6 separate regions of the Homo sapiens genome follow, and regions 1, 2, 3, 5 and 6 are each linked to region 4. Evidence: promoter capture Hi-C in human tissues and cell types (Jung and others, 2019). All regions are on one chromosome and are shown on one strand. The core of a region is centred on a gene start or on the middle of the fragment in contact, and the rest is flanking DNA. Distances in the headings are between cores, read along the strand shown. Region 1 overlaps MYH10 (myosin heavy chain 10). Region 2 overlaps LOC105371525 (a long non-coding RNA gene). Region 3 has its middle 12 kb from the start of MYH10. Region 4 holds the start of ODF4 (outer dense fiber of sperm tails 4). Region 5 overlaps LOC105371525 (a long non-coding RNA gene). Region 6 overlaps CCDC42 (coiled-coil domain containing 42).

What was found. Contacts are between HindIII fragments. The study calls those that stand out against the background at their distance.
Region 1: a contact is called between a fragment that was not itself captured here and the fragment with the promoter of ODF4 in region 4, in 4 of the 25 tissues and cell types used here (adrenal gland, lymphoblastoid cells, neural progenitor cells and 1 more).
Region 2: a contact is called between a fragment that was not itself captured here and the fragment with the promoter of ODF4 in region 4, in 2 of the 25 tissues and cell types used here (spleen and stomach).
Region 3: a fragment that was not itself captured here is called in contact with the fragment with the promoter of ODF4 in region 4 in 2 of the 25 tissues and cell types used here (adrenal gland and spleen).
Region 5: a fragment that was not itself captured here is called in contact with the fragment with the promoter of ODF4 in region 4 in 1 of the 25 tissues and cell types used here (spleen).
Region 6: a fragment that was not itself captured here is called in contact with the fragment with the promoter of ODF4 in region 4 in 2 of the 25 tissues and cell types used here (lymphoblastoid cells and spleen).

Annotation. Positions count from the first base shown.
Region 1 is chr17:8,610,529-8,614,183 of GRCh38, forward strand. The region is part of intron 2 of MYH10 (myosin heavy chain 10); the gene reads right to left. Among named protein-coding and RNA genes, the nearest start is that of MYH10, 18 kb to the right of the region's middle. The HindIII fragment of the contact is 6,260 bases long and covers 1-3,655 here.
Region 2 is chr17:8,698,035-8,701,465 of GRCh38, forward strand. All of the region lies in intron 2 of LOC105371525 (a long non-coding RNA gene), which reads left to right. Among named protein-coding and RNA genes, the nearest start is that of CCDC42, 45 kb to the right of the region's middle. The HindIII fragment of the contact is 7,889 bases long and covers 1-3,431 here.
Region 3 is chr17:8,641,165-8,644,536 of GRCh38, forward strand. No RefSeq gene overlaps it. Among named protein-coding and RNA genes, the nearest start is that of MYH10, 12 kb to the left of the region's middle. The HindIII fragment of the contact is 4,355 bases long and covers 1-3,372 here.
Region 4 is chr17:8,338,362-8,341,898 of GRCh38, forward strand. It overlaps ODF4 (outer dense fiber of sperm tails 4), which reads left to right and starts at 1,479. Exons shown (of 3, transcript NM_153007.5): 1 at 1,479-2,144. The coding sequence starts at 1,691. It overlaps LOC124903916 (a long non-coding RNA gene), which reads left to right. Exons shown (of 2, transcript XR_007065607.1): 2 at 62-397. The HindIII fragment of the contact is 12,554 bases long and covers 1-3,537 here.
Region 5 is chr17:8,681,514-8,685,117 of GRCh38, forward strand. The region is part of intron 1 of LOC105371525 (a long non-coding RNA gene); the gene reads left to right. Among named protein-coding and RNA genes, the nearest start is that of MYH10, 53 kb to the left of the region's middle. The HindIII fragment of the contact is 9,047 bases long and covers 1-3,604 here.
Region 6 is chr17:8,734,545-8,737,948 of GRCh38, forward strand. CCDC42 (coiled-coil domain containing 42) reads right to left here. Exons shown (of 7, transcript NM_144681.3): 5 at 846-1,067; 6 at 552-710. Among named protein-coding and RNA genes, the nearest start is that of CCDC42, 8.6 kb to the right of the region's middle. The HindIII fragment of the contact is 9,119 bases long and covers 1-3,404 here.

The DNA.
Region 1 (3,655 bases), core at 799-3,298, 270 kb after region 4:
AAAGCATGTGCTGGAAATTTAATCCCCAGTGCAACAATGTTGGGAGGTGAGGCCTATTGAGAGGTGCTTAGATAATGAGGGCTCCACCTTCATCAATGGATTAATGCCAATTATAAAAGGGCTTGTGGCTATAAATTCTATCTCTTGCTCTCTCTTGAGCATGCTCTTCTTGCCCTTCCGCCTTCTCCCATGGAATGATGCCGCAAGAAGGCCCCACCAGATGCAGCCCCTTGACCTTGGACTTCCCAGCCTCTAGAACCATAAGCCAAATAAACTTCTCTTGTTTATAAATCATACAATCTGTGTTATTTTGTTATAGCAACACAAAACAGACTAAGCAACCAATCTCAATATGTCAACCTTGTTTGGATCCTGAATTGTACAGACCAACTATTTATGAGATTATTTATGAGACAAAAGGAAAATAAGAAAAGTAACTGAATATTTGATGATTAGAGAATTGTTATTTCTTTCTTAGATAGATAATAGTTATGCATCCCAAAACCCGTTGCTGAGAAGATGCTAAGCAGAGCTTTCAGCAGCACAAAAGTCTAAGAGAACAAAAATTAAAACATTCCAGTCTACTCAGGAAGAGGTTGGTGTGGCGGTGGTAAATACCCCAAGCTTTCAGCTGGGACCCTGATGGCTACACCCTAAGAGTTAAGACTATATGAGAAACAGACCAGCCCTCACACAGCGTGAAGCCCAGTTGGAACAGAAGTCAACTCCTGCATGGACTACATGTCCTAGTTTCCCTAAGCCTGCCTGCCCAAAGCAAAACTCTAGAATAAGCTTAATGCCAGCCAGAGTCTCAAACTATTTCCACAATTCCTTGTACACAATAACTGGGCATATGAGGCAACAAGTTGTGGCTGAAATCCAAGATAATATCTGGAACCTCTGTGTGTCTATTTTTATTGACTTGTATTATTGCCCTGGGTTACAATATGTTCAAGTAATTAAAGACGTGACTGAGAATTCTGACAGAGAACTGGAAACTATTAAAGGAAAAACCCAAATGAAAATTCTAAAACTGAAAAACAAAACAAAACAAAACAAAACAAAAAAAGAAAACCAGTAACTACAATTAAGAATTCATGTGTTAAACAGCAAGCTAGATACAGCTGAAGAAACAATTAGTTACACGGCATTTTAATCAGAGGCAAACAGCCAGAGTGATCCATGGGGGAAAAACAAGGATAAAAATGTAGAGGAATGTGAGACCCAGATGGGACGAGGTGAAACGATCTGGAGCATGTGAAGTATGTGAGTCCAAGAAGGAGAAAAAAGAGAATGAGGCAGAAGCAGTATCTGAAGAGATAATGGCTAAGAATTTTCCCGGACCAACAAAAGCCATCAAGCCACAGAGTCAAAACCACTACAATCTCCAAGCTGAATGCAGTAGTGCCCCTTATCTGTGGTTTCACTTTCTGCAGTTTGTTGTCCACAATCAACTGTGGTCCAAAAATATTTGTTGAAAAACTCCAGAAATAAACAGTTCATACATTTTAAATTGTGCACTATTCTGAGTAGTGTGATGAAATCTGGCACAATTCCGCTCCATCGTGCACAGACCGTGAATTATCCCTTCGTCCAGCATCATCATGCTGTACAGCTATTAATCACTTGGTAGCCCTCTCAGATCTCAGATCAACTGTGTTCAAGTCACCTTTATTTTACTTAAGAATAGCCCCAAGCACAAGAGTAGTGATGCTGGCAATTCTGATATGCCAAAGAGAAGCCACAAAGTGCTTCCTTTAAGTGATATGGTAAGTTTTCAACTTAATAACGATAAAATCATATGCTGAGGCTGCTAGGATCTATGGGAAGAATCAATCTTCTATCTGTGAATTTGTGAACTAGGAAAAAGAAATTCATCAAATCATCACAAGAAGAGTACAATAAGATATTCTGAAAGAGGGAGAGAAACCACTTACATAACTTTTATTAAGTATATTGTTTTAATTGCTCTATTTTAATAGTTATTGTTGTTAATCTCCCACCACGCCTAAATTGTAAATTAAATTTTATCATAGGTATGGCCAGGTGCGGTGGCTCACACCTGTAATCGCAGCACTTTGGGAGGCCAAGGAGGGGGCAGATCACGAGGTCAGGAGTTCAAAACCAGCCTGACCAACACGGTGAAACCCCGTCTCTACTAAAAATACCAAAATTAGCCAGGCGTGGTGGCGCACGCCTGTAATCCCCGCTACTCAAGAGGCTGAGGCAGTGGAATTGCTTGAACTGGCAGGTGGAGGTTGCAGTGAGCCGAGATTGCACCGTTGCACTCCAGCCTGGGCTACAGAGGGAGACTCTGTTCTGTCTCAAAAAAAAAAAAAAATTATCATAGGTATGTATGTATAGGAAAAAACATCATATATATATGGTTCAGTACCATTTGTGGTTTCAGGCATCCACTGGGGATCTTAGAATGTATCCCTTGAAGACAAGGAGGACCCACTATATACAAAATAAAACTTTACCTAAGCCCATCACAGTAAAAGTGTTGAAATCCAAAGACAGAGAAAATTTTAGAGACAGCCAGTGGCCGGGGTGGGAAAAGGAAAACCGATGACCTTCAAGGGAACAACAATCAAACTACAAGCTGAATTCTCAACAGAAAAAGACGAAAGGCAGAACCCGATGCAATGGCATTTTCACAATGTTAAAAGAAAACAACCGCCGGCTCTGAATTCCAAATCCAGCAAAAACCAAAAAAACTTCAAAAATAAAGGACGAGTAGATACTTCAGATAAAAGGGGCCCTTTCTAAAAGAACGGAAGCTAAAAGATGTGGAAAAAAAAGAGTAATGGATAAAACTAAATGAATATCGACAGTATTAAAATGTAATATGTGTCTTGTGGGTTTTAAAATATAGAGAGAATTAAACAACAAAAGCACATAAATTAGGAAGGAAGAGGAAATAAATTTGTTCAGGTGCTCTCAGGCCCTACCTATCATGATCTACAAAAGAATAAGAGCTCCACATGTCTAACAGGTCAAGGATCCATGTTGGAATATGTAACCACTAAAAGAATAGCTAAGCAAATAGCAAAAATGGACAGCTAACACGAGGTGAAAAGACAGAATAATAAAAATTATAACCAACGGACAAAAAGATTAAAAAATAAACATAGAGCGGGTAGGATAAAAAGAAAGCAATGAATCAGAGGACAGATTTAAGCTAAAATGTAACAGTCATTACATCACATGTACATAAACTAAATATTCCAGCTGAAAAATATTGTCAGATTTGGGACAAAAATAACCACCATAAGCAGTTTATGAGAGACATATTTTAAAGGCACAGGCACAGAAAAGCTGAAAGTAAGTTAAGAAAGCAATTAACCACACAAACACTAATCCAAAAAAAAAAGGCTAATGCAAATATCAGACTTTGCAAGAAAACAACAGTCAATTTTGCAAGAAAACAACATCACTAAAAATGACCATTCCATGATTTGCCAGAAAGACATCAAATTTCTACATCTGTATATACGTGATAATAGCTTCAGCATGTACACAGCAAAAATGGACAGAACTAAAAAGGAAGGGATTTTCACAGTAACTGAAACAACAGATAATAAAGTATATGTATTTTTCAAGTGCATAATAACCCTTTACCAAATTAATCACATAACGAACCATAAAGCAA
Region 2 (3,431 bases), core at 432-2,931, 360 kb after region 4:
TCTGGGGGAACAAAATAGAATAAAATTTACACACACACACACACACACACACACACACACAATTTTTCTCTCCCCAAACTTTCTTTCTTCCTTTCTTCTGCTCTGCCTTGTCCCCAGCATCCACACCTGATGCATGGCTGCGTGCACCACCCTGCAAGGGAGCTCCCACTCTGGGCCAGACATTGTGCAGGAGGCCAGAGGAAGGTGACAGTATAGAGCAGATCCTGGCTCTCACGCAGCGTGTCCTGGATGAGGCAATGGACTGCTGCCATACGGGGCATCCAGCCAGACACAAGGGCTCAAGGAAGCTTCTGGGAGGAGGCGACACTTGAGCTGAATCTTAAAGAACAAGCAGTAGTTAGCCTAATGATGGATGGGGATTAGAACCGGAAACCCCGGGCTGAGGAGAGAAAGCGGGGGAGAGAGACCAGATGGGGCTGAGTGCCTCCAGGTGTGGAGAGACGTGAGGCTGGAGGTAAACAGGGGCCAGAGCATGGAGCCTTTTTCTAGGAGATGTTAAAGGGACTGGGTCTCTGTCACCATCTCCCACTCCCAGCTCCCAGCCTTCTATCTCACAGCTCAGTCCACCACCGCGGAGCATGGGTCAGGTCAGGCACGTGTGCACGCGCGCGCGCGCGCACACACACACACGAATATGCCCGGAAATGTATACTCAATGCCACATCACATAAGCAAGGACATTTAGCAAAAGGGAAGAAAAGAAGAAAAATGATGTTCAAATGAGAACCAGGGAGAGACGGCAGGCCTGGGGGAGGGCACTCAGCCAGGAAGGGGAGAGGAGGAGTGGAAGTGGGAAGTGCGTGGGCGGGAGAGCCAGGAGGCTGTTGATGGAAAGGGAGCTGGAGAATGCTCTGGGCTCTCCGCAAGGGGAAGACACAGACAGCAGCGGAGACAGCTGGTCAGCAGAGGTGGTGGGAGTGGGGGGCGAAGCACAGAGTCTAGAGCCCAGCCTCCCCCATCCAAGGCTCAGCTCGGATGTGTGTCCCCTCACGCCTCGCCCGCGGGAACTGTGGCTCCTCCTTTAGCTGACCACAGTGGTGGGCATTGGCTGCAGGAGGTCCCTGAGAAAGCCCTCCAGTGTGGTCCAGGAGGGAGATAGGGCCTGGGGATCTGTCTGATGCTCCGCTTTAGTGTGGATACATTGATCAGATGTGTTCCCTGGCATCCTGGAGGGTTCGAAAGCCTGTTCTGAAGGGTGAGTGTCCTTCATGGCACATGCCTCAGAGACCTGTGTTCCCTGTGCATTCAGAGGGGAGGATCATATTTTAGGACTCAGCCGAGGCTTTGCTTCCACCTCCTTGGCTCCTCAGGGCTAGGCCAGGGACGTGCCTGTGTATTCGTTTGGAAATCCCAATGCAATGCAGTGGGACATGCTTAGGGCAAGTGAAGGGCAGGTGCACTGTCTTTTATGACCCACCCTTGGCAGCCGCACAGTCACTTCCGTTGTATTCTGTTCAGAGCTACTGTGATACCATCAGGGAGGAGACTATGCAAGGGCACCAGTTCCAGGAGGTGAGGGTCTTTAAGGCCATCTTGGAGATTGGCCACTGCAGTCACTAAATTTTGGGGTAATTTGTCATGCAGCCATAGATGACTAATACAGGCAGAGATGTCCTTGATGGGGTGCTTGGCCCAGGGTGGCAGGCAGGTAAGGTGGGGCAGGACTTGACTCTGGGTCTCTTAGATAAGATTCTTTTCACTACAAGAGATTTAAACTTCTATTTTATTTATTTTATTATTTATTTATTTATTTATTTATTTATTTATTTATTGAGAAGAAGTTTTGCTCTTGTTGCCCAGGCTGGAGTGCAGTGGCGCGATCTTGGCTCACTGCAACCTCTGCCTCCTGGGTTCAAGTGATTCTCCTGCTTCAGCCTCCCGAGTAGCTGGGATTACAGGTGTCTGCCCTCACGCCCAGCTAATTTTTTTATTTTTAGTAGAGACAGAGTTTCACCATGTTGGCCAGGCTGGTCTTGGACTCCTGACCTCTGGTGATCGTCCCACCTTGGTCTCCCAAAGTGCTGGGATTACAGGTGTGAGCCACCATGCCTGGCCAAAAAAATTCATTTTAAACTGAAGTATAGAAAGAAATGTATGGGCCCACATAACAGAAAAGACCAGAATCAGTGCTGGTTTTGAGTAGCTGAAACTAAGATGTTAGAGAAAGTATGTGACTCGTAGTCAAATGGGACACATGGAGCACATAGGAGTGTTTGGAGGAGAGGTCAGCAGCAGCTAGAGTGATGGGCAGTGGAGATTCCTTTGTGTATGTGCTCAATTTCTACACCAAAAAAGAAAAGAACAGCAACAGCAAACAAACAGTGGAGATGCTTCTATGTGTGTGTGTGGGGGGGGTCAATTTGTTGGTTTCTTTCGCTTTCTTTGTATAGGATTCAGCACAGGCACGTGCCTATCTCAGCACCTTCACAGCAGAGAGCGAATCTCTGCATCCAGTTACCCCAGAGACACATCTGGACACCTCCCCGCAACAAAGCCCCCAAGACCTTCCAGAAGAGGAGCTGTGTCCAAGAGCCCCCTTCCTGTTATGGGAAGTGCACTATCTTCTGACCCTCATATCTGTTGCCTCTATTTGTTGCTCTCTCATAAACCAATCCAAATGGAGGGCATCTGTATTGCCAAAGGGATTGGTCACTCAGCTTCGTCGGATGCAAGAAAAGATTCTGAGGGTAGGGACGGGCATCGGTCTTGCTGACTGCCCTCTCTGCAGCTGTCAGGACTGGGCTTAGCATGTAGTAGGTGGCCCATAAATATTTGTTGAATGAACACATATCGTCGGGAAAAAGGAGGTTGTTGTAAGGACACGCAGAAGAACCAGAACTGGAACTGGAAGTCAGAGCGGAAGTGGCCCCAGGGACCAGTGAGTCTCAGCCTGTCTCTCAGGGGCTGTGTCTTTTCTCACTACGCACCTGCTAAGATGTGGCACTTGCCATGGCCTCCCCATTCCACCTCATGGCATTCTTCACTGTCAACTTTCAGCCTCCAGCTTCCAGGAGCCTTATACTATGGGTGACTCGCTTCTCTTCTATATTTAACCGCTTCCTCCAAACCAGACCCTTCCCATCAACATTTAAACATTTCAGGTCTCTCCCACTGAAAGAACAAACCAACCAACCCTCTCCAACACAAGACCTTCTCCAGTTACTGCCTTCCTTCCCTTCACGACCAGCTTCTGGAAAGGTTTTTCCACATTCCCCATTTTCGTCTCTTCCCCTCACTCAGTTCTTGCTCATTCCATTCTGGGTTCCTCTCCATCACTCCATTGACGTAAGTCTTGCTGCGGTGCCAGTGACATCCTAGTTGTTCCAGTCCTCACCTTGCATGACCCACAATCACACTAGACACAGATGGTCAAGTTTCTCATTGAACTCACCAGATGTTTCGCCTCTTTC
Region 3 (3,372 bases), core at 621-3,120, 300 kb after region 4:
AGGATCACTTGAGCCCAGCCTGAGCAAAATAGGGACACCCTATCTCTACAAAAAATTTAAAAATTAGCCAGGTTTGGTGTTGGGTGCCTATAGCCCCAGCTATCTGGGGGGCTGAGGTGGGAGGATCGCTGGAGCCCAGGAGGTTGAGGCTGCAGTGAGCTATGATGCAGCCACTGTGCTCTAACCTGGGCAACAAAGCAAAACACTGTGTCAAAAGAAAGAAAGAAGAAAGAAAGTAAGAAAGAAAGAAAGAAAGAAAGAAAGAAAGAAAGAAAGAAAGAAAAGAAAGAGAGAAAGACCTACTTTATAAGGTTGCTGTAAGGTTAAATACAATAAACTAACACTTGTAAAGGTTTTAGCACAGTGGCATTTGTAAATATCTTATCACAAACTAGCAGTCAATAGTGTCACTCTTTATTATTGCTATTATATTTATCATCGTTATCATTACCATTTGGAAAGGACTTGTACATAGCCTTTGCCTTTCAAAGGAAGTGTGTAGTGCTCTTTTGTTATTTTCTATAGATGTATATTAATGAGTGTTGTTCCTTGCTTGGAGTTTTAAATGATACAGAAACAATACATAACTGCAGAGGAAATAATCTAAGCCTATCAAAGTTCTTATAAAAAGTAAAGAAAGAATGTAATATAGAAAGACTGCTAATTAGAAGTTGTACACCCAAATAGACCATACCAACAGCCCTTACACAGAAAGATCCACTCTGATAGACATGCAGATACCTGTACACGCTTAGCAGCATTTACTCTGCATATCTAAGCAAGATAAATTGGAAGGGATAAGGGATAATCATGATATTCATGATGTGCCTTGACTGCAGGCAGGTGGTAATCTGCTGCTGCAGGTAGGATGGATGGCATGGGGGGGTGATATGATCTGGCTGTGTCCCCACTAAAATCTCACCCTGAATTGTAGTAATCCCCATGCAAAAAGGGCGGGGCCAGGTGGAGATAATTGAATCATGGGGTTGGTTTCCCCCATACTGTTCTTGTGGTAGTGAATAAGTCTCACGAGATCTGATGGTTTTATAAATGGGAGTTTCCCTGCATAACCTCTCTTGCCTGCTACCATATAAGACGTGCCTTTGCTCCTCCTTTGCCTTCTGCCATGATTGTGAGGCCTCCCCAGCCATGTGGAACTGAGTCCATTAAACCTCTTTCCTTTATAAAGTACCCAGTCTTGGGTATGTCTTTATTAGCACATGAGAACAGACTAATACAGGGGGTAAACATCTGGACTCAGCAATCAATTAAATTGGCTCCACCACTTACAACTGTGTCCTTAGACAAGCCACATGACATCTCAAGACCTTAGTTTCCTCATCTGTTAAATGGCAATGATGATAGCACAGACTGAATGAGATTGTTTTAAGGATTAAATAAGACAATGCATGCAAAGACTTGGCCTACCATTGGGCTCTTAGGAGGCTATTCTTTTCTTTTCTTTCTTTCTTTTTTTTTTTTTTTTTAAAAACAGTCTCACTCTGTCACCCAGGCTGGAGTACAATGATGCAATCTCAGCTCACTGCAGCCTCGATCTCCTGGGCTCAGGTGATCTTCCCACCTCAGCCTCTTGGGTAGCTGGGACTAAAGGCATGCACCACCACACCTGGCTAATTTTTTGTATTTTTTTTTGTAGAAATGAGGTTGTGTCATGTTGCCCAGGCTGGTCTCGAGTTCCTGGGCTCAAACCATCCACTCACCTCACCCTCCCAAAGTGCTGGGATTACAGACATGAGCTATCACACCTGGCCATATCTAGCTATTCTTAAGTGCTCAAACTTGAATCTTATTAAGCGTCTGAATCTACTAATTTACAGAAAATACAGAGGACAGAAGACCATGTTAAACCATACCAGAGTAATGCAATCGACGAAATCCAGGATGTAGAAAGCGTCACAGAACAAACAGCCTGGCTTCTTCAACCAATAAATTGCAAGTAAAGGAAACAACAAAGAGATGGGCCAATGCTATAGATTAAAAGATACTTAAAAGATACATCAACCAATTGCAACGTGTGAAGCTTTTTTGGGAGCCTGATTCAAATAAACAAACAGTTTATGAAACAATGGAAAACAAGTAATTTATGAAACAATCGGAAATTTGAATGCAGACTGGATATTAGATGATATTAATAAAGTACTGTTAATTTTTAAATGTATGGTAATGCTATCGTCGTTATGTAAAAATAAAGAATCCTTTTCTTTTAGAGATGGGCACTATAAAATTACAGATGAAATAATATGGTGTCTGGGATTTGCTGTGAAATAGTATGGGAGAGAGTATAGAAAGAAGTTTGTTCATGAATTGTTGAAGTTGACTAATGAGTATACCGCTCTCTCTTTATTTTTGGATATATTGGAAATTCTCTATGAAAGAAACCTTAAAAATTACTTTGGTTGATATGATTTTTATTGGGAGTGCCAAATCCTAGTGGGGAAAAATGAGATCCTGGAGAAAATAAGAAATTGTTCAGCTTGAATGTTACAATCCTCATAATCTAGTGTCAACCCACCTTCTCAATTCACGCCTCGTCCTTCAACACAGATGTTTCTCCCAGTTATCACCTCCAGTTGGTCTTGTCATCTTCTTTGCTTCTTTCTGGCCATCTTCCCCGCTTTGTTTGTACTATTTCCTCCTGGAAGGCCCTTTCTCCGCAAATTCACCAGGCCTGGTCCTCCCCACCCATCAAGACTGAACCCCAGCTGGGCATGGTGACTCACGTCTGTAATCCCAGCACTTGAGCCCAGGGGTTCTGGACCAGCCTGGGCAACATGGCGAAACCCTGTCTCTACAGAAAAACAAAAAGCAAAAATTGATTGCACGTGGTGGCAGGTGCCTGCAGTCTCAGCTACTCAGGAGGCTGAGGTGGGAGGATCATTTGAACCCAGGAGGCAGAGGATGCAGTGAGCCAAGATCACGCTGCTGCATTCCAGCCTGGGTGACAGGGGGAGATTCATCACCATAACAACAACGGCAACAACAAAACTGAGCTCAAAGTTCACCTTCGCCCTGAAGCTTCTCTGAATACTTTAGCCAAAATTTTTTTGAATTCAATAGTAAATGTCGGCTCAATTCGTGATCCCGAATCTGCCTCAAGTACATGTGCAGTCTCATCTCTCCCCTCTCATAGATAATCCTGAAAACTGGATTAAACCCAGTTCCCTGAACATAACCCACGCTTTCTCGTTACTTAGATTTTGATCACAATACCTTCTCTGCCAGGGCCTCTCTGATGTCTCCATCTATTGAAATTCTATCCATTCTTGGAGGCTTATCTACCAAAAAGTCCTCCTCCACCAGGAAGTCTTTCTCTACCTCTACTCCCAACACACCTGCAGCCCAACTAAATGT
Region 4 (3,537 bases), core at 229-2,728:
ACAGGATGGCAGCTAAGAAACAGCTTGCTGAAATGCTGAAAAATCCCTTTGCTTATAACAGGACTGGCTGAAATCAGTGGGAACCCGTATGGCTGACAGCAATCCGCACAGAACGAGCTTGCTGATGTCACAGCCTGAATTTCCACCTGCTGTTTCATACTAACGCCACCAAATTTGCACATGCAACCCACGAAGAACCTTGGAGATAACCAGACATGATTAAGGACTTTCTAGACTTCTCCTTTCTTTCCACCAATCACCCGCTAATCCCAGAATCCTCCCCCTAAACCTTTTCTAATAAAAGTACTGCCTTAAGACCAGCAAAGAGAGACAGATTTGAGCTGGATTCCCGTATCCTCGTGGGTCAGCTCACAATAAAGCTTTCCTTTTCTCAAAACCTAGTGCCCTAGTATTGGAGTATTGGCTTCTATGCACATCTGGCAGCGAGCACTTTTGCTTGGTAACAGCGCCAGGTTCTTTTTAACAACCAGCTATTGCGGGGAGCTAATGGAGTGAGGTCTCAGGGAAGGCGTTAATCCAATCACAAGGCATCTGCCCCCATGACCCAAACACCACCCACTAGGCCCTCTCACCTCCCATCACCACCACACTGGGGAGCAAATTTCAGCATGAGGTTTGGTGAAGACAAATTAACCATATGCAGACCACAGGAGGGCCTCTCACATACCATTGCTCATATGTAAAGGGAGGCAGAAGCTGGAGGGAGGTGTCAGATCCACAGTTCTGAGCTGTGGCCTGAGAAACAGGATTTCCGGAAAGAGTTAGAGCTGGAGCCACAGGCCAGGCAAGGTGGCTCACACCTGTAATCCCAGTGCTTTGGGAGGCCAAGTGGGGAGGATCTCATGAGGCCAGGAGTTTTTTTTTTTTTTTTTTGAGGCTGAGTTTCACTCTTGTTGCCCAGGCTGGAGTGCAATGGTGCGATCTCGGCTCACCGCAACCTCCGCCTCCCAGGTTCAAGCAATTCTCCTGCCTCAGCCTCCTGAGTAGCTGGGACTACAGGCATGTGCTACCACGCCCAGCTAATTTTGTATTTTTAGTAGAGATGGGGTTTCTCCATGTTGGTCAAGATGGTCTCGAACTCCCGACCTCAGGTGATCCACCCACCTCGGCCTCCCAAAGTGCAGTGATTACAGGCGTGAGCCACCGTGCCTGGCAGAGGCCAGGAGTTTGAGACCAGGCTGGGTAACATATCAAGACCCCATCTCTACAAACAATTGAAAAATTAGCCAGGCATGCTGGCACAATCCTGTAATCCCAGCTACTCAGGAGGCTGAGGTGGGAGGATCACTTGAACCCAGGAGTTCAAGGTTGCAGTGAGCCAAGGTTGTGCCACTGCATCCCAGCCTGGGCAATAGAGGGAGACCCTGTCTCTCTCTCTAAAAAAAAAAAAAAAAAAAAAAAAAATTGCTGAAGACTTGGCTTCCCTCCCCCATCTCACTGTGCCCCAGGAAAATTCCGTGGCAGTTAGGGGACCTGGCCTGCTGAATGGGTTGGGGCCTTCTCTTGGATCAAGAGTCTCTTATTTGATCGAGGTCTGTTATTAGACTTCCTCATTCTTTCTCAGACCTCAGGCTGCATGGTGGCAGCTGATGAAAATATCCAAAAGATGAGAAGAGACAATTGAGTCTGGTGAGGGAAAGGGGAGACAGAGGGTGAAGTGGTGCTCAAGATGGATGCAGAGTACTCTGGGAATGAGTTCCCCAGGTCAGAAGGAGAAAGAGACCAACATCAGAGACCTGGAAAGGAAAGGAAGAGTGGGGAGGCAGGATGGGGCACAGGTGAGCTGGGACAAGATGGGAGACTGCTGTCCTCCACCCTCTCCCTCAGTAGTAACAGGTCCTTGGGCCAGCGCCAGAACTCTCCGCTGCCCTTTCAATGGAGAATCACACACAGCTTCCGCTGGATGGCCCAGGTGTTGGCCTCTGAGCTCAGCCTGGTTGCCTTTATCCTACTATTGGTCGTGGCCTTCTCCAAGAAATGGCTGGACCTCTCTAGGAGCCTCTTCTACCAGCGCTGGCCCGTGGATGTCAGCAACAGAATCCACACATCAGCCCACGTTATGTCCATGGGGCTCCTGCACTTTTACAAATCCAGGAGCTGTTCTGACTTAGAGAATGGGAAAGGTGAGCCCCTCCACCCCCCATCCCAGCCCAGGCCGCCAGCCTGTCTTGGCCTCTGTATCTGCACCCTGGATGTATTCTTGTTCCCTCTTTCTGGTCATCTTTACTTTTTGGCCTGCAAGATGGTTCCACTGGCACTGAGACCTCCGATGATCGTTTCTCATCCTGTAGCCTGGCTAAATAGATTTGATTGGTGCAATGGAAAATGTCACTGCTTTTGATAAAACCCAGAGCCAAATCTGTGCTTCTAAGAATGCTGTGAGAGAGTTGGGCATGGTGCTGCACACCTGTAGTCTCAGCTATCCAGGAGGCTGAGGTGGGAGGATTGCTTGGGCCCAAGAATTTGAGTCCAGCCTGGGCAATTTAGTGAGACTCCTGTCTCAAAAAAAAAAAAAAAAAAATCAGGCTGGGCACTGCGTCTCACACCTGTAATCCCAGCACTTTGGGAGGCCAAAGCAGGCAGATCACCTAAGGTTGGGAGATCGAGACCATCCTGGCTAACATAGTGAAACCCCGTCTCTACTAAAAATACAAAAAATTAGCCAGGCGTGGTGGCACATGCCCGTAATCCCAGCTACTCTGGAGACTGAGGCAGGAGAATTGCTTGAACCCGGGAGGTGGAGGTTGCGGTGAGCCGAGACCGCACCATTGCACTCCAGCCTGGGCAACAAGAGTAAAACTCTGTCTCAAAAAAAAAAAAAAGTTACGAGGGGCATGGACTCAGCACAAGAGAATCATTCATTAATCGCCTAATTTACCAGGGACAAGAGCCCCAGTGAGATGGGGGTTTCCTTAGTCTTGTGTACCCAGAGCTTTGAGAGGACTCCTTGCAATGTCCCCTCTCAGGCCCTGATCCCACACATTCTCCTTTCCTTCTGCCTCAGGCCTTGCTTTTCTGGATCATTTTCCTTTTTCCACATCTGGCTTCTGTGTTCCTTCTTTCCCTGAATTCTTGCAGCTGCTTCATTCCTCATCCTTGTTTTTTTCTGTTTGTTTCGCTGATTTTTTTAGAGACAAGGTCTCACTCTGTCACCCAGGCTGGAGTACAGTGGTGCAATCATAGCTCACTGCAGCCTCGAACTTCCAGGCTCAAGGGATCCTCCTGCTTTAACTTCCGGAGAAGCTCAGACTACAGGCCGTGGCCACCACACCTGGTTCTTATTGTTGTTAGTCTCTGGTTATGCTGTTCCCTCACCCCTCAGGAATTTGGAGTTCTTTCCCTGCTCCTGGGGAAAACCAGAGCTTTTGACCCTTATTTCCATTTTTTCACTCTCCTTAGCATGAAAAAAATCACACAGCTATTATTTTCTGAAAGTATTATGTCCTTATCATATGAATATGAAAATATTCATATAATGAATTATGAAAGCATTATGAAAATATTATGTCCTTATTA
Region 5 (3,604 bases), core at 703-3,202, 340 kb after region 4:
GAGGTGCGCTCTGGTCAGGCCAGGGACAGCTGCCAACATACAAACAGTTTCCTAAAATATCCCCTGCATGCAGGAACGATAAGCAGACCCCATAGATCTGTGGCTGAGAGGTGGGGAGAGAAAAGCCTGGGGGAGAGAAATAGAATGAGTGGCATTAAGCATAATTCGGGTAATTTGGCAGATACTTCCTGCGTTTAAAAAATGGAGTCTATAAAGAGTTCAGCAATGGCCGACAACTTTCTCCATACCAGTATCGCTGCCAAAGTTCAGATGCTGGGCTGATGTCCACCTCTGGGAAGGACTGCTAGCAAATTCATGAGTTGTTCTTTCATCTAAAGTCTCTTACCAAGAAATTGTTTTTGGGAAGAGTGGTCCATGGAAACGGGTCTGGCTTCCAACGCTACACGCCAGCAAGCAGGGACCTCCCTGTCCCCATGATCGCCCGCCGGTTTTGGGGCTTGTTCCTTTACTTTTGGGCACCATTTCCATCCCAATAAATATCCCATTTTCTTTTTTCTTTTTCTTTTGAGACAGTCTCGCTCTGTCGCCCAGGCTGGAGTGCAGTGGCGCGATCTCGGTTCACTGCAAGCTCCGCCTCCCGGGTTCACGCCATTCTCCTGCCTCAGCCTCCGGAGAAGCTGGGACTACAGGCGCCCGCCACCACGCCCGGCTAATTTTTTGTATTTTTAGTAGAGACGGGGTTTCACCGTGTTAGTCAGGATGGTCTCCATCTCCTGACCTCGTGATCCGCCCGCCTCGGCCTCCCAAAGTGCTGGAATACCGGCGTAAGCCACCATCCCTGGCCCCAAAATTTCCCATTTTCCAACAGTAGACTCTGAATGCCATCTGGTCATAGCCTGTTTTTTGTGTTTCCTTTTTCTTTTCTTCTTCTTCTTTTTTAAAATATAATTCAACCCAACTTTATTTTATTTTTTATTTAAATTATACTCTTAAGTTTTCGGTTACACGTACAGGATGTGCAGTTCTGTTACATAGGTATACACGTGCCATGGTGGTTTGCTGCACCCATCAACCTGTCACCTACATTAGGTATTTCTCCTGTTATCTGTCCCCTAGCCCCCCACCCCCCACAGTCCCTGGTGTGTGATGTTTCCCTCCCTGTGTCCATGAGTTTTCATTGTTCAACTCCTACTTATGAGTGAGAACGTGCGGTGTTTGGTTTGCTGATCTTGTGACAGTTTGCTGAGAATGATGATTTCCAGCTTCATCCATGTCCCTGCAAAGGACATGAACTCATCCTTTTTTATGGCTGCATAGTATTCCATGGTGTATATATGTCACATTTTCTTAATCCAGTCTATCACTGATGGACACTTGGGTTGGTTCCAAGTCTTTGTTATTGTGAATAGTGCCGCAATAAACATACATGTGCATGTGTCTTTATCGTAGAATGATTTATAATCCTTTGGGTATATACCCAGTAATGGGATTGCTGGGTCAAATGGTATTTCTAGTTCTAGATCCTTGAGGAATCACCACACTGTCTTCCACAATGGTTGAATTAGTTTACACTCCCACCAACAGTGTAAAAGCGTTCCTATTTTTCCACAAGTGTTTTGTTTTTCTTATATGCACTTTGGGAACTCTTCTTGGCATTAATTATCTTTTTAATTAATTAATTATTTTTTGAGAGAAGGTCTTGCTCTGTCACCCAGGCTGGAATGCAGTGGCACAATCATGGTTCACTGCCACCTCGAACTCCAGGGCTCAAGAAATCCTTCCGCTTCAGCCTCCTGAGTAGCTGGGACTACAGGTGCACCACTGTGACTGGCTAAATTAAACAAAATTTTTTTTTTTTTTTTTTTTTTTTTGTTAAAGATGGAGTCTTGCTTGCCTAGGCTGGACTGTAACTCCTGGGCTTAAGGGATTCTCCCGCCTCGGCCGCCCAAAGTGCTGGGATTACAGGTGTGAGCCACTCGTGCTTGGCTGACACTGATTGTCTTTGATGTCCAGTTTCCATTCTTCCTGCTTTTGGTAATAGTCGCCCATTTCCATCCGGCAAAATACCCCTCCCCACTCCCAGTCCTGTGACCCACAGGGGTTGCTAACACTCCACTCTCTCCCACCCCCACCACCATCACCACACACACCCCCCATGTACCTTGGGTCATACATGCCCTAAGCCTTGCCAAAAGAAAAGGATGAATTCAGTGAACACCTATGATCAGTGGAGCTTTTAGACTTCAGGTCCTTTCTTCTTAGAAATTAATTTCTTAAAATAGTGAATACATTCACATGGTTCCAGAAAAAGCATGGGAAGTTGAATAGTAATAAAATAGAAAACTATAAATCAAAAAGTAAATAAATTGAAAATTTGATAACAGAACAAGACATTTGCATAGTCTTCAAGTGCTTCCCCACAAAATCTCATTTGTTAGAAAGGGAAAAAGAGGAATTTTGCCAAGGAGAACCCTGGCAGACACCACATTAATAAAGCGATTAATGTTAATGTCATCGGTAATGGGACAAATTGTAATTGTGTGCCGATTGATAGATGCAATGAGAAGGTCATATGTCACTCCTGTGATATTCCCGCCAAAGATTTGTAAGCTGAATCTAATCATGAGGAAATATCACAGCATGCCTATGCCTTGGCATAGTGGCTCACCCCTGTAATCCCAGCACTTTGGGAGGCCGAGGCAGGTGGATCACCTGAGGTCAGGAGTTCGAGACCAGCCTAGCCAACATGGTGAAACCCTGTCTCTACTAAAAATACAAAAATTAGCTGGGCGTGGTGGTGCCTGCTTGTAGTCTCAGCTACTTGGGAGGCTGGGGCATGAGAACCGCTTGAACCTGGGAGGCAGAGGCTGCACTGAGTCAAGATTGTGCCACCGCACTCCAGCCTGGGCAACAGAGCAAGACCCCGTCTGATTATTGGCCTGTAATCTCTCTGGTCTTGAAGGCTACGAAAAGACTGAGAAACGATCCAGATTGAAAGAGAATGAAGGCAACATATGATTATGAAGTGGATCCTTTTGCTATAAAGGACATTATCGGGACACTTGAAAGGTAGAAATATATCAGTGTTAATTTCCTGATCTTGTTGATTGTATTGTGCATATGTGGGGGTTTCCCTGTAGGAATTTAGATACTAAAGTATCCACAGGTGATGGGGCATCATATCAACAACTTACTTTCAAATGGTTCAGGAGAAAAAGATATTTTTTTACCATGCTTGTAGCTTTTGTGTAAATTTGAGATTGTTTCAAAATTTAAAAAATGGTTTCAAATTATCTAGTACAAAATTTTCCCTCTAATCACTGAGTTTCATCTGCCTAGTCCTTCCCCAATAAGGGGTAACCATGAATCCTGGTACGTTCTTTAGAGATTTTATTTTCAATGTATCTGTAGGAATAAATAAGCCATGCCCACAACATAAGAGGCACTCTTTTTTTTTTTTTTTTTTTTTTTTTTTTTTGAGATGGAGTCTTGCTCTGTCGCCAGGCTGGAGTGCAGTGGCGCAATCTCGGCTCACTGCAACCTCCACCTCCCGGGTTCAAGCGGTTCTCCTGCCTCAGCCTCCCGAGTAGCTGGGATTACAGGCACATGCCACCATGCCCAGCTAATTTTTGTATTTTTAGTG
Region 6 (3,404 bases), core at 435-2,934, 400 kb after region 4:
TTTTGTTTGTTTGTTTTTTTGAGGCTGGCCTGGAACTCCCAACCTCAGGTGATCCACCCACCTAGGCCTCCCAAAGTGCTGGGATTACAGGCATGAGCCACCGTGCCTGGCCCCAATTTCTCTTTTTAACGAAGTGTGGGCCTCAAGCTCAAGCCTTCAGCAAGCCACAGTATCTCACTAGAATTTAATGAGGCTGTTTTGCACAACTAATGGATTCAGTAGTGGGTCCCTGCTACTGCTCTGTAGACTGGGGCTAAAAGGGTTTCGGTGCTAATGCAATGGTTCTCAAAGTATGGAACCCGAACCAGCAGCGTCACTTGGGAACTTGCTGAAAATGTAAATTCATGAGTTCTCATCTCAGATCCACTGAGTCAGAGACTCTGCGGGTGGGGCCCAGTAATACTCCTCACCCTCCCAGGTGATCCTGATGTTGTTAAATTTTGAGAGTCCCTGCTCTGCTTCTCTGTCAGGTTCATTCTTCCACCCAACCAACTGGCAACCTCCTCGGCCCAGCCGACCCCACGGGCCCAGTGCCTGTCCCCTCCTCCTACCATGTCCAGCTGCTTGTGGGTGTCCTCCAGTGCCACCTCAGTCACCTCCTTCAGGTGCTTGCTCACGATCTGGAAGAGGTTCAGCGTGGCCATCTTAATGGTGCCAAGCAGGAGGGTCTTCTTGGCTGCGGTGTTCTGGATGTGCGCCCAGCGAGATTCCTGGAGAGTGGATAAGGACGGGGCATGAGCACAGCATGTGGTGTGTGTGTGTTTGTGTGTATGTGTGTGTGTGTATGCTCAGGGCCCGCACTCACCCAGTGCCTGGGAGCCCCCGGCCCGCCCCGGGCCCCTCACCCAGAAGATGACATTGCTGCGGGCACGGTCAAAGCGCATCTGCAGCCTTGCCAGCTCATTGTTTTGCTGCAGGATCTCATCATCCTTTTCCTCCATGTAGCGCGCCAGCCGGGCCTTGGCGCGCTCAATCTTCTCCTGGCCTTCCTGCGCAGACTGCATGAGGTCGTGGCGCATGCTCACCAGCGTCTTGTAGCGTGCAATCACCTCATGGATCTCCTCGAACTGTGGTCAGGGGCTCAGGTCAATGCACAGCCAGCCCCTGGGGCCTGAGGGAGCCACCCAGTCCTGCCAACCTCCAGCCTGGATGCCTGGACACCTGGACACCTGGGCAGGCAGGCCCTTGGCCAGGGTCACGGCCAGAGGCTGTGAGGGACACTGGGGTTCCGCTGCCTGCTTCTCCTGGGTTTGTACGGGCCACGGTCCATTTGTTGGGCAGGGGGATGCACAACTGGGCTAGGGATTTTCGACTTTAACTGCATGTGAGAATCACCTGTAGGGGCTTTAAAAAGGACACCTGCCAGTCTCCACCCCCAGAGATTCAGATGAATAAACAAGTCTTCTGTGGTCTCTGGCATCTGAATTTTGCAAAAGGTCCCCTGGTGGCTCTAGGCACAGCCAGGGTTGATAATCGCTGATGGAAGGCATTTTGCAATGTCTTCCAAGGCAAGAATTTCCTATTCAACAAGATTGTACCAGGAACCACTTACAAGCCAGGAGCTATGCTAAATGCTAGGGAAATAGCAGGAGTTAGGAAAACCAGATTCTGCTCTTAGGAAGCTTACAGCTTGGGGGGTGGCATGGAGGGAGGACAGACAGACAAGTAAACAGTCAGTTACAACAGCAAGATAAGCCCTATCTATGACTGGGGGATAGGGCTGGAGGGGACTCTGGGAAAGCCTTCACGTTGGTGATCTCTGGTATTTGTTCATTTACTGAGGGAGAAGCAGGGATAGAGAGGGTGCTGGTGGGGCAGGTGGCCTGCCAGACTCAGCTCACCTCCCCCAGCCTGGTCCAGAACCATGCCACTCTGGCCCTAACCCTCAGGTCCCACTCAGTGGAACAGAAGCCATGAAACCCACGCTCTTTAGAAGGCAGCATGAACACCAGTTCTGTGATACCAAGTTGCCTTCCTAGGGGCTTATCAAAGCATGCCTTTCAGCCGCCCAGGGGAAACTTCCCGAGCACCTTCTCCATCTCGTGACATCTCCAGTGATGGATGCGTGTCCTGGGAACTGCCCTGCTGGCCTTTCCCCAAATATGCCTCTTTGGGGAAGGGCCACCCAACCCAGCACGGAAAGAGGTAGGAACAGCCAGAAAAGGTTTCATGGGAGAAAGTGTGGCTGAAATGAGATGAGAGGTATATAAATAGAAGATAGCTAGCAAAAGCAGGTGTAGGGAGGTGAGGCAGTGCTACAGGTGAAGGAGACAGCCTGGGCAAAGATGAATGGAATAGGGGGTTGTATGTTCAGGATGCTGAAGGTAGCCTGAGTTCAAGATGGGGAGGGAGAGACTGAGAAGAAGAAGAAAGGAAGAAGAAAGCAGAAGAAGAAAGAAAGAGGGAAGGAGGAAGGAAGAAGAAGAAGAAGAAAGAGAGAGAGGGAGGGAGGGAGAAAGGAAGGAAAAGAAAAAAAGAAAAGAAGAGGGAGGGAGGAAGGAAGGGAAAGAAAAAAGAAAAGAAAAAGGAAAGAAAGAAAAAGAAAAAAAGAAAAGCAAGCAAGCAAGCGAGCTCAGTAAACCTTGGGAAGGAGTGTGGACTTTATCCATTGAAGGATTTTAAGAAACAGACAATTCACGTGTGCATTTCTGAAAGTTCATCTGGCACACAGTGCAACAGTGTACCACAGTTCAAATAAATGGACCACATCAGAGCTACTAGGAACACACCTCTAAACTTAATGCTGATGTCAAAAGGATTTAGGTGCCAAATCGAAGAGCCACCCACTGCCCAAAGATGAGATGATTTGAACATTAGTAAGAATAAGTGCAAAGGATTAAAACATATCAAATATGTTAAAAATCCATCAGTTCACAATGATACTAGAAACATTACAGGTCAGTGCTAGAGAACAAATTCATTATTCTGAAAACTAAATAAAGCATTTAACAAACTTTCTCTGCGAGACCCACATAGTAATCAAATGGTGGATGAAGGAAAGGATCTCTTTATGAAGTCCTTTTCTTTATGGTAGTATTCTAGCAAATAAATGAGGAAGGGTTGCTAGTGAGTGTCTTCCCCCGACCAGTGAGGAAACCAATATTCTGACTTCTATCAATAAAGATTAATTTTACCTGTTTTTAAACACATCAATGGAATCATACGATATAACCTCTTTTGTGTCTGGCTTAAGAAGCATACCAACTAAGGGCAGTGTGAGGACCTTATATGGACTCTCATTGGAACAAACCAACTGTACAAAAAGCATCCGTGCAATAATTTGTCTTAAAAGACAGGGTCTCACTCTATTGTTCAGGCTGGACTACAGTGGCATAAACACAGCTCACTGCAGCCCTGACCTCCTGGGCTCACGCAGTCCTCCTGCCTCAGCCTCCCAAGTAGAT